Linked DNA regions of Homo sapiens: all the other regions are linked to region 2. The links are contacts of gene promoters, found by promoter capture Hi-C in human tissues and cell types (Jung and others, 2019). All regions are on one chromosome and are shown on one strand. Each heading gives the region's core, a stretch centred on a gene start or on the middle of the fragment in contact. The rest is flanking DNA. Distances are from core to core; before and after follow the strand shown. Region 1 overlaps MEI1 (meiotic double-stranded break formation protein 1). Region 2 holds the start of MEI1 (meiotic double-stranded break formation protein 1). Region 3 overlaps MEI1 (meiotic double-stranded break formation protein 1).

Evidence for each region. Contacts are between HindIII fragments. The study calls those that stand out against the background at their distance.
Region 1: a contact is called between a fragment that was not itself captured here and the fragment with the promoter of MEI1 in region 2, in 2 of the 25 tissues and cell types used here (mesenchymal stem cells and spleen).
Region 3: a fragment that was not itself captured here is called in contact with the fragment with the promoter of MEI1 in region 2 in 8 of the 25 tissues and cell types used here (H1 embryonic stem cells, dorsolateral prefrontal cortex, liver and 5 more).

Annotation. Positions count from the first base shown.
Region 1 is chr22:41,768,579-41,772,428 of GRCh38, forward strand. It overlaps MEI1 (meiotic double-stranded break formation protein 1), which reads left to right. Exons shown (of 31, transcript NM_152513.4): 20 at 2,108-2,383. Among named protein-coding and RNA genes, the nearest start is that of CCDC134, 30 kb to the right of the region's middle. The HindIII fragment of the contact is 6,757 bases long and covers 1-3,850 here.
Region 2 is chr22:41,697,804-41,701,240 of GRCh38, forward strand. MEI1 (meiotic double-stranded break formation protein 1) reads left to right here and starts at 1,700. Exons shown (of 31, transcript NM_152513.4): 1 at 1,700-1,909. The coding sequence starts at 1,736. It also overlaps the pseudogene C22orf46P. RefSeq lists a silencer at 1,673-1,772. The HindIII fragment of the contact is 9,130 bases long and covers 588-3,437 here.
Region 3 is chr22:41,786,810-41,790,211 of GRCh38, forward strand. The region is part of intron 26 of MEI1 (meiotic double-stranded break formation protein 1); the gene reads left to right. Among named protein-coding and RNA genes, the nearest start is that of CCDC134, 12 kb to the right of the region's middle. The HindIII fragment of the contact is 8,169 bases long and covers 1-3,402 here.

The sequences.
Region 1 (3,850 bases), core at 342-2,841, 71 kb after region 2:
CAGGCTATACAGGAAGCATGGCTGAGGAGGTCTCAGGAATCTTACAGTCATGGCAGAAAGCAAAGGGGAAGCTGGCATATCTTATATGGCTGGAGAAGGAGGAAGAGAGTGAAAAGGGAGGTGCTACAAACTTTAAAACAACCAGAGCTCATGAGAATTCACTCAGTATCACAAGAACAGCAACGGGGAGGTCCACCCCCATGATCCAGTCACCTCCCACCAGGCTCCTCCTCCAACACTGAGGATTATAATTTGGACATGAGATTTGGGCGGGGACACAAATCCAAATCATATCAACTTATATAGTGAAAATTTCAAAACATTACTGTTTTTCTCTAGTTTTTTTCTTAATTAAAAATCTAAATTAACAGACTGCATTCATGAATTGGAAGACTTAATAGTTTAAGATGGCAGTGCTCTCCAAATTGATCGGTAGATTCAATGCAATCTGTATCAAAATCCCAATTGTACTTTTTTGCAAAAATGAATAAGCTGAACCTAAAATTCATATGGAAATGCAAAATAGTCAAAACAATCTTGAAAAAAAAGAACAAAGTTGGAAGACTCATACCTTTTTTATTTTGGAACTTAGCAAAAAACTATAGTAATCAGGATAGTGTGGTACTGACATAGGAGTAGACATATAGATCAATGAAATAGAATTGAGAGTCCAGAAGTAAACCCATACATTTATGGTCAATTTTTGATGAGGATGCCAAGATAATTCAATGGGGGAAGATTTGTCTTTTCAGAAAATTTTCAGGAACAACTAGATATACACATGCAAAAGAATGAAGTTGGACTCTTAACTCATATCATACACAAAAATGAACTCACAATGAGTGAAAGACCTAAATGAGCCAAAACTGTAAAACCCATATAATAGCATATTAAGGAATTTTTTTTTTTTTGAGATGGAGTTTCACTCTTGTTACCCAGGCTAGAGTGCAATGGCGTGATCTTGGCTCACCACAACCTCTGCCTCCCGGGTTCAAGTGAGTCTCCTGCCTCAGCCTCCCAAGTAGCTGGGATTACAGGCATGTGCCATTATGCCCGGCAAATTTTTTATTTTTAGTAGAGACGGAGTTTCTCCATGTTGGCCAGGCTGGTCTCAAACTCCCGACCTCAGGTGATCCGCCCACCTCAGCCTCCCAAAGTGCTGGGATTACAGGCATGAGCCCCCACGCCCAGCCTCATACTAAGAAATTTGAACATTGTTATGGGAATGCAATGGGAAGAGGTAGGTTTGTGAGGAGTAAGAAATTATTCAACAAGGCCGGGCACGGTGGCTCACACCTGTAATCCCAGCACTTTAGGAGGCCAAGGCGGGCAGATCACCTGAGGTCAGGGGTTTGAAACCAGCCTGACCAACATGGAGGAACTCCGTCTCTACTAAAAATACAAAATTAGCCGGGCATGGTGGCACATGCCTGTAATCCCAGCTACTCAGGAGGCTGAGGCAGGAGAATCACTTGAACCCGGGAGGCAGAGGTTGCGGTGAGCCGAGATCATGCCATTGCACTCCAGCCTGGGCAACAGGAGCGAAACTCTGTCTCAGAAAAAAAAAAAGAAATTATTCAACATATCTCCCCTTCACCCCTTCTGTGCCAGGCCCTATGCTAAGTGCACAGATTAATCTGCCACAGTCCCTACCCTCAAGCAGCTTTCAGTCTAGTGTGGGAAGTAGACATGCACACTGACAATTACAACCCACTGTGGTACCATCATCAAGCTGGGTTTCTTGACCTCGGCACTATTAATATTTTGCACCAGATCATTCTTGTGTGATAAGCTTTGTAGGATATTTAGCAGCATCCCCACTCTCTCCCTACTAGATCCCAATAGCATTCCCCCAATCAAGATAGTAAAAAATGTCTCCAGACTTTACCAAATGTCCCATGGGGACAAAATCACCCCTAGTTGATAACTTCTGTTATAAGGTAAGTACAGTGGTATTTTCTCACTAAAGTGCCTTGGGATGAGCTAGCCAAGGTGTCCTGGAATACTGAGATGACAGTACATTTTTCCTAGTCATCTCTTGGCCATGTTGGGGTCTCTTGGGTCCTCTGCAAGGTGTATTTACCTCCTTTCTTTGTTTTGCCTCCAGACTATGGTCAGTGCAATCAGAAAATTCCTAGAAGGCATCCCAGACCTGCAGCTAGTCTATACTCACCATCCGCTCCTGCTCAGGTTCTTTCTGTTGTATCCAGAGCTCATGAGTAGGTATGGGCACCGTGTCCTGGAACTTTGGTTCTTCTGGGAAGAGAGCAGCTATGAGGAACTGGATGATGTCACCTCTGCTGGGCAGCCCGCCCTTCCTGCCAGCTTAGTAGTCCTGTTCCAGTTGCTCAGAAGCATCCCCAGCATCCTGCTCATCTTGCTGGTAGGCAACCACTCATTCATTTCTACATTCAGAAATCGTGGGCCTTCTCTCTCTGAGAGCCGGTTTACTGAGGTCAGGAGGCACCCACATCTGCTTCAGCCCACCTCCAGACTTATCACTGTCTGCATGTGAGTTGGAGGGGTGGTGGTCTCTTCTACTTGTAGGTGCCTAGTTTCTGTAAATCCATACTCTTTCCTAAGTCTAATGGAAGTCTACCAACTGAGAGATGTGTGCCTCTCTTCCCCCCAGGGGATGACACTATGAAATGCAGATCTTAGTCACCATCCCCTCTCACCTCCCTGTCATCTCTCAAGCAGATTCTGCTGACACAGGTTTAATGTTAAAGGAAGCCCATGGGGCATGTAGATGGACATTTCTGATGGCAGAGGGACTCCTCCTCTTTTTTGCCATGACTTACATGATAATATTATATGTACATTACTTGCTCAGGCATACCTAGAATTGTCAGATGCCCCAGTACTTTTTTTTCTGGAGACACAGTCTCACACTGTTGCCCAGGGTGCAGTGCCGTGGCATGATCTGGGCTCACTGCAACCTCCACCTCCCGGGTTCACGCAATTCTCCTGCCTCAGCCTCCCGAGTAGCTGGGACTACAGGTGCACGCCACCACACCCAACTAATTTTTTACTTTTTTTTTTAAGAGATGGGGTTTCACCAGGTTGCCCAGGCTGTCAATACTTTTTGGTGAAGTACGTTACTGAAATTCCCATCAGGAATTAGATGGGCTAATTAGATTAGATAAGGTAAACTGCCTAGTGGCTGGCTTTAACTCCACTTTTTTTCCTTCCACTCAAGAAGGCAAATTGAACAACAAATTAGATACCAAGGAGAGTAGCAGGGGACAGAACTAAGATACTAGGTTTTCTTCACCAGATGAAATATTCGGGGTCAGTTCTTCACACATAGTAGGTACTTATAAATTATGACCCATTGAATTATGGGTCTAGACCAATCTAAGTCTGTCCAGGGATAGTAGTGACAATACAGTCATGCATTGCTTAATGATGGGGATACATTTTTAGAAACACAGTGTTAGGTGATTTTGTCATACCAACATCATGGAGTATACTTACAGACATCTAGATGGTCTAGCCTACTACACACCTAGGTATATGGGATGACCTGTTACTCCTAGGCTACAAACCTGTACAGCATGTTACTGTACTGAATATTGTAGACAAATGTAACACAGTGACATTTGTATATCTAAACATAGAAAAGATACAGCATGACTATATCTTATTTATTTTTATTTTTTTTCTTTTTTCTTGCTCTGTTGCCCAGGCTAGAGTGCAGTGGCAGGATCATGGCTCACTGCAGCGTCAATCTTCTGGGCTCAAGTGATCCTCCTGCCTTAGCCTCCCAAGTAACTAGAATTGGCTGGGCGTGGCAGCTCATGCCTATAATCCCAGTACTTTGGGAGGCCGAGCCAGGTGAATCACCTGA
Region 2 (3,437 bases), core at 450-2,949:
TCCCAAAGTGGGTGATCCTCGTGCAGGGGAGGACAGCATCGGAGATCACACTGCTTCACAGAGGGATCTTCAGCTGCAAGGTCACTGCTGTACTGGGGCCACCCTTCCTAAGACAGAGAGTCCCCAGGGCCAGGAGGCACCTGGGAACCCAAATGGGGCTCCACAGAATACACGAGCCTCCAAAAAGTTTAGTATTATGAAGCATCTGAATTTTTTTCTCTTCCAGAATGGCTTTAAAAAGTAGACTCAGGCCCAGAGTCCTCAGGACATATCAGAAAAGCTTTGAGAGTGTCCTGATCCCTGCAAAGCCTCTAATAAATTGGTCATTTGGGCCCTGTGGTGTTCTGATTTCTCTGGCACATTTTCCAAGTGCCCCCTTTCGGGGTTTGGGATACTTTGTGGGTGGGGTAGAAGCCCCTTCCACTCTGTGGTTGTGGTTTAGGGAATGTGGGTCAACCCAGTGTCCTCTCCGAAACACCTGCCCCCCAGCTCCTCACAGTGGAGTCCACTGAGGTTCTATCCTGCTCTGTCTCCAAGCTAATCCTGATTGAGGCAGGACACTCCAAAAGCCTCAGCTGCTTATGGGGAGGGGTGGTCCTCTGCATGGGACGCTTTTTTTTTTTTTTTTGAGATGGAGTGTAGGTCTGTGGCCCAAGCTGGAGTTCAGTGGCTTGATCTCCGCTCACTGTAACCTCCGCCTCCTGGGTTCAAGCGATTCTGCTGCCTCAGCCTCCCGAGTAGCTGGGATTACAGTCATGAGCCACCACACCCAGCTAATTTTTGTATTTTTAGTAGAGGAGGGGTTTCGCCCTGTTGCTCAGGCTGGTCTTGAACTTCTTTCTCTCTGTCTTTGGTGTTTTGTTTTGTTTTTTTACTTTTATTTTTTGGTCTTAAGCTTCTGATTTATTTATTTATTTTTAAGATGGAGTCTTCCTCTGTCACCCAGGCTGGAGTGCAGTGGTGCGATCTTGGCTCACTGCAACCTCCACCTCCCAGGTTCAAGTGATTCTCCTGCCTCAGCCTCCCTCCCAAAGTGCTGTGATTACAGGCATGAGCCAACTCACCCAGCCTCTAATTGCTTTTAGATGCGAATCCTTGGGATCGCTTATTTTCCTTTTTTTTTTTTTTTTTGAGATAGAGTCTTGCTCTGTCGCCAGGCTGGAGTGCAGTGGCACAATCTCAGCTCACTGCAACCTCCGCCTCCCAGGTTCAAGTGATTCCCCTGCCTCAAGCCTCCCAAGTAGCTGGGATTACAGGCACTTGCCACCACACCCAGCTAATTTTTTGTATTTTAGTAGAGACGGGGTTTCACCATGTTGGGTAAGATGGTCTTGATCTCCAGATCTCGTGATCCGCCCACCTCGGCTTCCCAAAGTGCTGGGATTACAGGCGTGAGCCACCATGCCCGGCCTTCATTTTTAAAAAACAGTAGAAATAGCTTCCTTTCCTTCCTTTTTCAAGGCAAATGCCCCCTACTTTATAATTGCTTTTCAACTTTGGATGTGGTAAAGACATTCCTGCAGGGTTCTAAGCACAAACCGCTTTTGGCTTAGCTAGACACGATCCAGAGCACTTGCGTCCACCACTTGCCCTCAGTGGCTGCTGCTCGTCTGAGACTGCAGCGCCCTGGGTCCGCGCAGGCGCATTCCACACCGACGCAGGTCCGTCCTCCAAGTGCGCATGCGTGCAGTCTGCGCGGGAAAGAGTGCCGCCTCAGCTGAGGGCAAGCGAGGAGATGGCTGTGAGGCAGGCGGCGACGGCGGGCACTCCCGGGCCCAGGAGAGAGGAAGAGGCGGCGCTTCTATTCGAGAGGGCCCATTACCGGCACGACCCGCGCTGGCTGCTGCCCGTGACCCCCCGCCTGTGCCTGGCCTGCGCGCTGGAGCTGCTGCCGGACCCCGGCGTGTCGGTGCGGGCGGAACCTTTTCTTCAGAAGACCTGGGTTTGGCCATTTCCCTCAGCAAACGCGGCCAGGCCCTTGCCAGACCCGCTCCGGTGAACCCGACGCGAAACCGGGCCCCCGCGCTGTGTTCACTCTCCTCCCTGTCAGCCCGTCCCGGACCCGGCCGCAGCGGCCTCTCGGGCCCCTCAGCCCCAGGCCGGCCTGCGGGCCTCCGTGGAGCCCGGTCCACTGGCTCTGCGCCTGAAAGGACGGAAATCCGGATCCCCCGGGACCTCACCCAGTCTCAGGGACACACCTTCCCGCCTTCCGCCTTCTGGCTCCTTCCCTTTGCTGCCCCTGCCTCCATTTCCCGGGGATTCGGCCTTAGCTCAGGCTCCCGCCATTTCAGCCTCCCGCCATTTCAGCCTCCACTCACCTGCGGGCCAGGGGCGCATGCGGCGGCCGCTCCTCATTCCCTTCAGCTGTCGGGGTGTGAATCGGAGGAGGGGCAGTCTGGGCTCCGAGGGGACAGGAGTGACAGGTTACAGCCGGGCAGAAGTGGGGGTGAACGGGAAGACTGTTCCTTGGGCAGAGCTGGCCAAAGCGGGCTGCCTGGGTCCTCATTGCCTACCGCGTTTGCAATGAAGTGGTTTTGTTTGTTTCGAGACGGAGTCTCGCTCTGACACCCAGGCCGGAGTGCAATGGCGCCATCTCCGCTCACTGCAACCTCTGTTTCCTGGGTTCAAGCGATTCTCCTGCCTCAACCTACCCAGTAGCTGGGATTACAGGCTCCCGCCACCACGCTCGGCTAATTTCTCTATTTTTAGTAGAGACGGAGTTTCATCATGTTGGCCAGGCTGGTCTCGAACTCTTGACCTCAGGTGATCCACCCGCCTCGGCTTCCCATAGTGCTGGGATTATAGGCGTGAGCCACGGTGCCCGACCTGCAGTGAGTTTTCTTGTCCATGGAGGCATCCAAGAAGACTTTGGGAGGTCAAGTTTCTCTCCAATTCATGGGAGGGGAATTCGTGAGTGGGTGGATTGGCTAGATCAGCAGTTCTCAATTTTTTTTTTTTTTTTTTTTTTTTTTGTAGAAACGGTCCCGGGGGTCTCCCTGTGTTGCCCAGGCTGGTCTTGAACTCCTAGTCTCAAGCAATTCTCCTGCCTTGACCTCCCAAAGTCCAAAGTGTTGGGATTGCATCTGTGAGCCACCGTGCCTGGCTGCGTTCTCAAATATTTTGATTTCTTTCTTTCTTTTTTTTTTTTTTTTTGAGATGGAGTTTCACTCTTGTTGCCCAGGCTGGAGTGCAATGGCGCAATCTCAGCTCACCGCAACCTCCGCCTCCCGGGTTCAAGCGATTCTCCTGCCTCAGCCTTCCGAGTAGCTGGGATTACATGCATGCGTCACTACGCCCAGCTAATTTTGTATTTTTAGTATAGACGGGGTTTCTCCATGTTGGTCAGGTTGGTGTTGAACTCCCAACCTCAGGTGATCTGCCTGCCTCAGCCTCCCAAAGTGTTGGGATTAAAGACGTGAGCCACCACACCCGGCCAA
Region 3 (3,402 bases), core at 576-3,075, 89 kb after region 2:
AGCAAAAGCATGTCTACCTCCAAGGGGTTTGTGTTTTATGGCTTAGGAGACACTTGTAGATCAGTGTTTATGTAGCCATCATATCCCGAGCCCTGACCCAATGTCATGGCCTATGAAGGATACTGGGGGCCCCAGGAAGATGTCCCAGGAGTGGGCCCTATGCTGAGTTAGCGGTTGTTGAGTCTTGTCCTGTGGCACATCCTTGCACAAGGCTCTGTGCTCTTTAGGGATCAAACATCTATCCTATTATAGCACTTAGCTCTCTGTTTCAAGTTTCCATTTTCATATCACTATTCCCCCAACCAGGCTGTGATATACTCAAGGGCAGAGTCTGGGTCTGGTTAATCTTTGTGTGTCCTTCCCCTTGTGGGTTTAAAGCTAATTTAGAATGCAGGAATCAGATGAGAACCAAAACATAAGCTTTATTGCTGGTAAACATCATAGTAGAATATTGGCTGGGACTCTGGAACAGAATGGGCTTTTTTTTTCCTGCAGTTTTTCAAACATACAGCAATGAGAGAGTTTTACAGTGAACATTCATACACCCAACACCTAGATTCTACTAATAACATTTTATTATACTTGCTTAATCATATCTGTCCAAAATGAGCTTTTTAAAACACCCTCCTTCTTGCCAGACCAGGGGTCCACAGGCGGGAAAAACTGTGTTTGCATTATGGACACTTAGCCAGCTGGCCAGGATCTTAAGAGTTTAAGTTCATGGGAGCATAATCTTTAATACCTTAATCCTGCCCTGATGGCACAGTAGATCTTAAGCTAGTATCTTGCCTGCTAGATAAAACCTTCCTTGGGTGAGGAGGGCCAGTTAGGGAAATGCTTTCTCCCTAATGTTTCTAAAAGCGCTGATGTTCCTGTTTTAAGATTCAGAACAGGAGGTGTGGGGGGAATGATTTCCCAATACCCAGCACAGAGCTTGGCACAAAGTTGGCATCTGGGAATGTTTGTTGAATGGATGAAAACCACAGAAATTAACATTACATGATCCCAGCCATTTAGGCACTCACAGATTATAGGAAACACAAATAACTACATCTAATACCAAAATGACCTATTAGCAGTTGAGCATTCCTAATACAAAAGTCCAAAATCCGAAATGCCCAATGAGCATCTGCTTTGAGCATCATGTTGGTGCTCAAAAGTTTTGGATATGGGGATATTTCAGATTTCAAATTTTTAATTACAGATACTCAACCAGTATTTGTTTTTTTGTTTGTTTTTGAGATGGAGTCTCGCTCTGTCACCCAGGCTGGAGTGCAGTGGTGCAATCCCAGCTCACTGCAACCTCTGCCTCCTGAGTTAAGTGATTCTCCTGCCTCAGCCTCCCAAGTACCTGGGACTACAGGTACGCACCACAATGCCTGGCTAATTTTGTATTTTTAGTAGACATGAGGTTTCACCATGTTGGCCAGGCTGGTCTCGAACTCGTGACCTCAAGTGATCCACCTGCCTCGGCATCCCAAAGTGCTGGGATTACAGGCGTGCCCAGCCTCAACCTGTATTGGAAGGCTGCACAGGAGAGGTAGCATTTGAACTGGGCCTTGAGTGATGAAAAAGCCTTCTTCAAACCAATAGCCTAAACACTAGGGTGGGGTGCCAGTGAGGTTTGTGGGTTTTGTTTTGTTTTTTTTGAGACATAGTCTTGCTCTGTCACCCAGGCTGCAGTGCAGTGGTATGATCCCAGCTCACTGCAACCTCCACCTCCTGGGTTTAAGCGATTCTTCTGCCTCAGCTTCCTGAGTAGTTGGGATTACAGGTGTGTGCCACCATGCCTGGCTAATTTTTGTATTTTTAGTAGAGACAGGGTTTCACCATGTTGGCCAGGCTGGTCTCAAACTCCCAACCTTAGGTGATCTGCCCACCTCGGCCTCCCAAAGTGCTGGGATTACAGGTGTGAGCCAACGTGCCCAGCCACCAGTGAAGTATTGTATAGCACTTTCACCATTCGCCTCTCATGCCCAAGAGCCTAGGTGTCTCCCTGGCCTGTGACATTCAACTCTGCCTCTGGCAACTGTTTATTTTTATTTTTGAGATAGGGTCTTGCTGTCGCCCAAGCTAGAGTACAGTGGCATGATCATGGCTCACTGCCACCTTAACCTGCTGAGCTTAAGTGATCCTCCCATCTCAACCTCCTGAATAGCTGGGACTACGGGTATACACCACCATGCCCAGCTAATTTTAAAATACTTTTGTATTGGTAGTAAGGCCAGGCGCAGTGGCTCATGCCTGTAATCTCAGCACTTTGGGAGCCAAGACGGGCGGATCACTTGTCAGGAATTTGAGGCCAGCCTGGCCAACAGGGTGAAACCTCATCTCTACTAAAAATACAAAAAAATTAGCCGGGCGTGGTGGCGCGCACCTGTAATCCCAGCTACTTGGGAGGCCAAGGCAGGAGAATCACTTGAACCCGGGAGGTGGAGGTTGCAGTGAGCCAAGATCATGCCAGTGCACTCCAGCCTGGGTGACAGAGCAAGACTCCATCTCAAAAAATAAATAAATAAAAAATAAAATACTTTCGTAGAGATGATATCTCACTATGTTGTCCAGGCTGGTCTTGACCTCCTGGGCTCAAGCAATCCTCTGGCTTTGGCCTCACAAAGTGCTAGGATTACAGGTGTGAGTCACTGCACCTGGCCTTGTTTTAATTGTAGTAAACTATATATAACATACAATTTAGTATTTTAATCATTTTAAGTATATGGGTCAGTGGCATTAAGTACATTCACATTGTTGTGCAACTTTCACCATCATCCATCTCTAGATCTTTTCATCTTCCCAAACTGAAACTCTGTACCCATTAAACAATTCCCCAGTCCCCTCCCCCAGCCCCTGGCATCTACCATTTTACTTGCTATCTCTATGAATTTGACTACTGTAGGGACCTCATGTAAGTGGAATCCTGTATTTGTCTCTCTGGTAGTTTTTGACTGTCTGTCCTCAACAGTCCCTGGGAAGGGGAACCCAACCTGAGAAGCTCATGACTCCCCCTGTAGAAGGTGCTGGGCCTACCCTGCTTATGGGAGGGTATTGCTGAGGAGCCTGTCTTAGCCTCACAGTGACTGCCCTATAATTGCCTAGTGAACAGGACCAAGTAGGCTTTTCCTCTTTTCTCTCACTGTCACACTCTCGAGAAATTTCCTGGCCTTCTTTGTTCAGCCACAATGTCCCCTCTGTCACTGCCCAGGACCTCATGGCTATAGCTAAGCCTCCTTCATTCCCTTCAACCAGTTTGTTGTTTAAAACTAGTTTGTTTGTTTTTTTGTTTTGTTTTTTGAGACAGACTCTCATTCTGTTGTCCAGGCTGGAGTGCAGTGGCGTGATCTTGGCTCACTGCAACCTCTGCCTTCCAGTTGCAAGAGATTCTCGTGCCTCAGCCTACCAAGT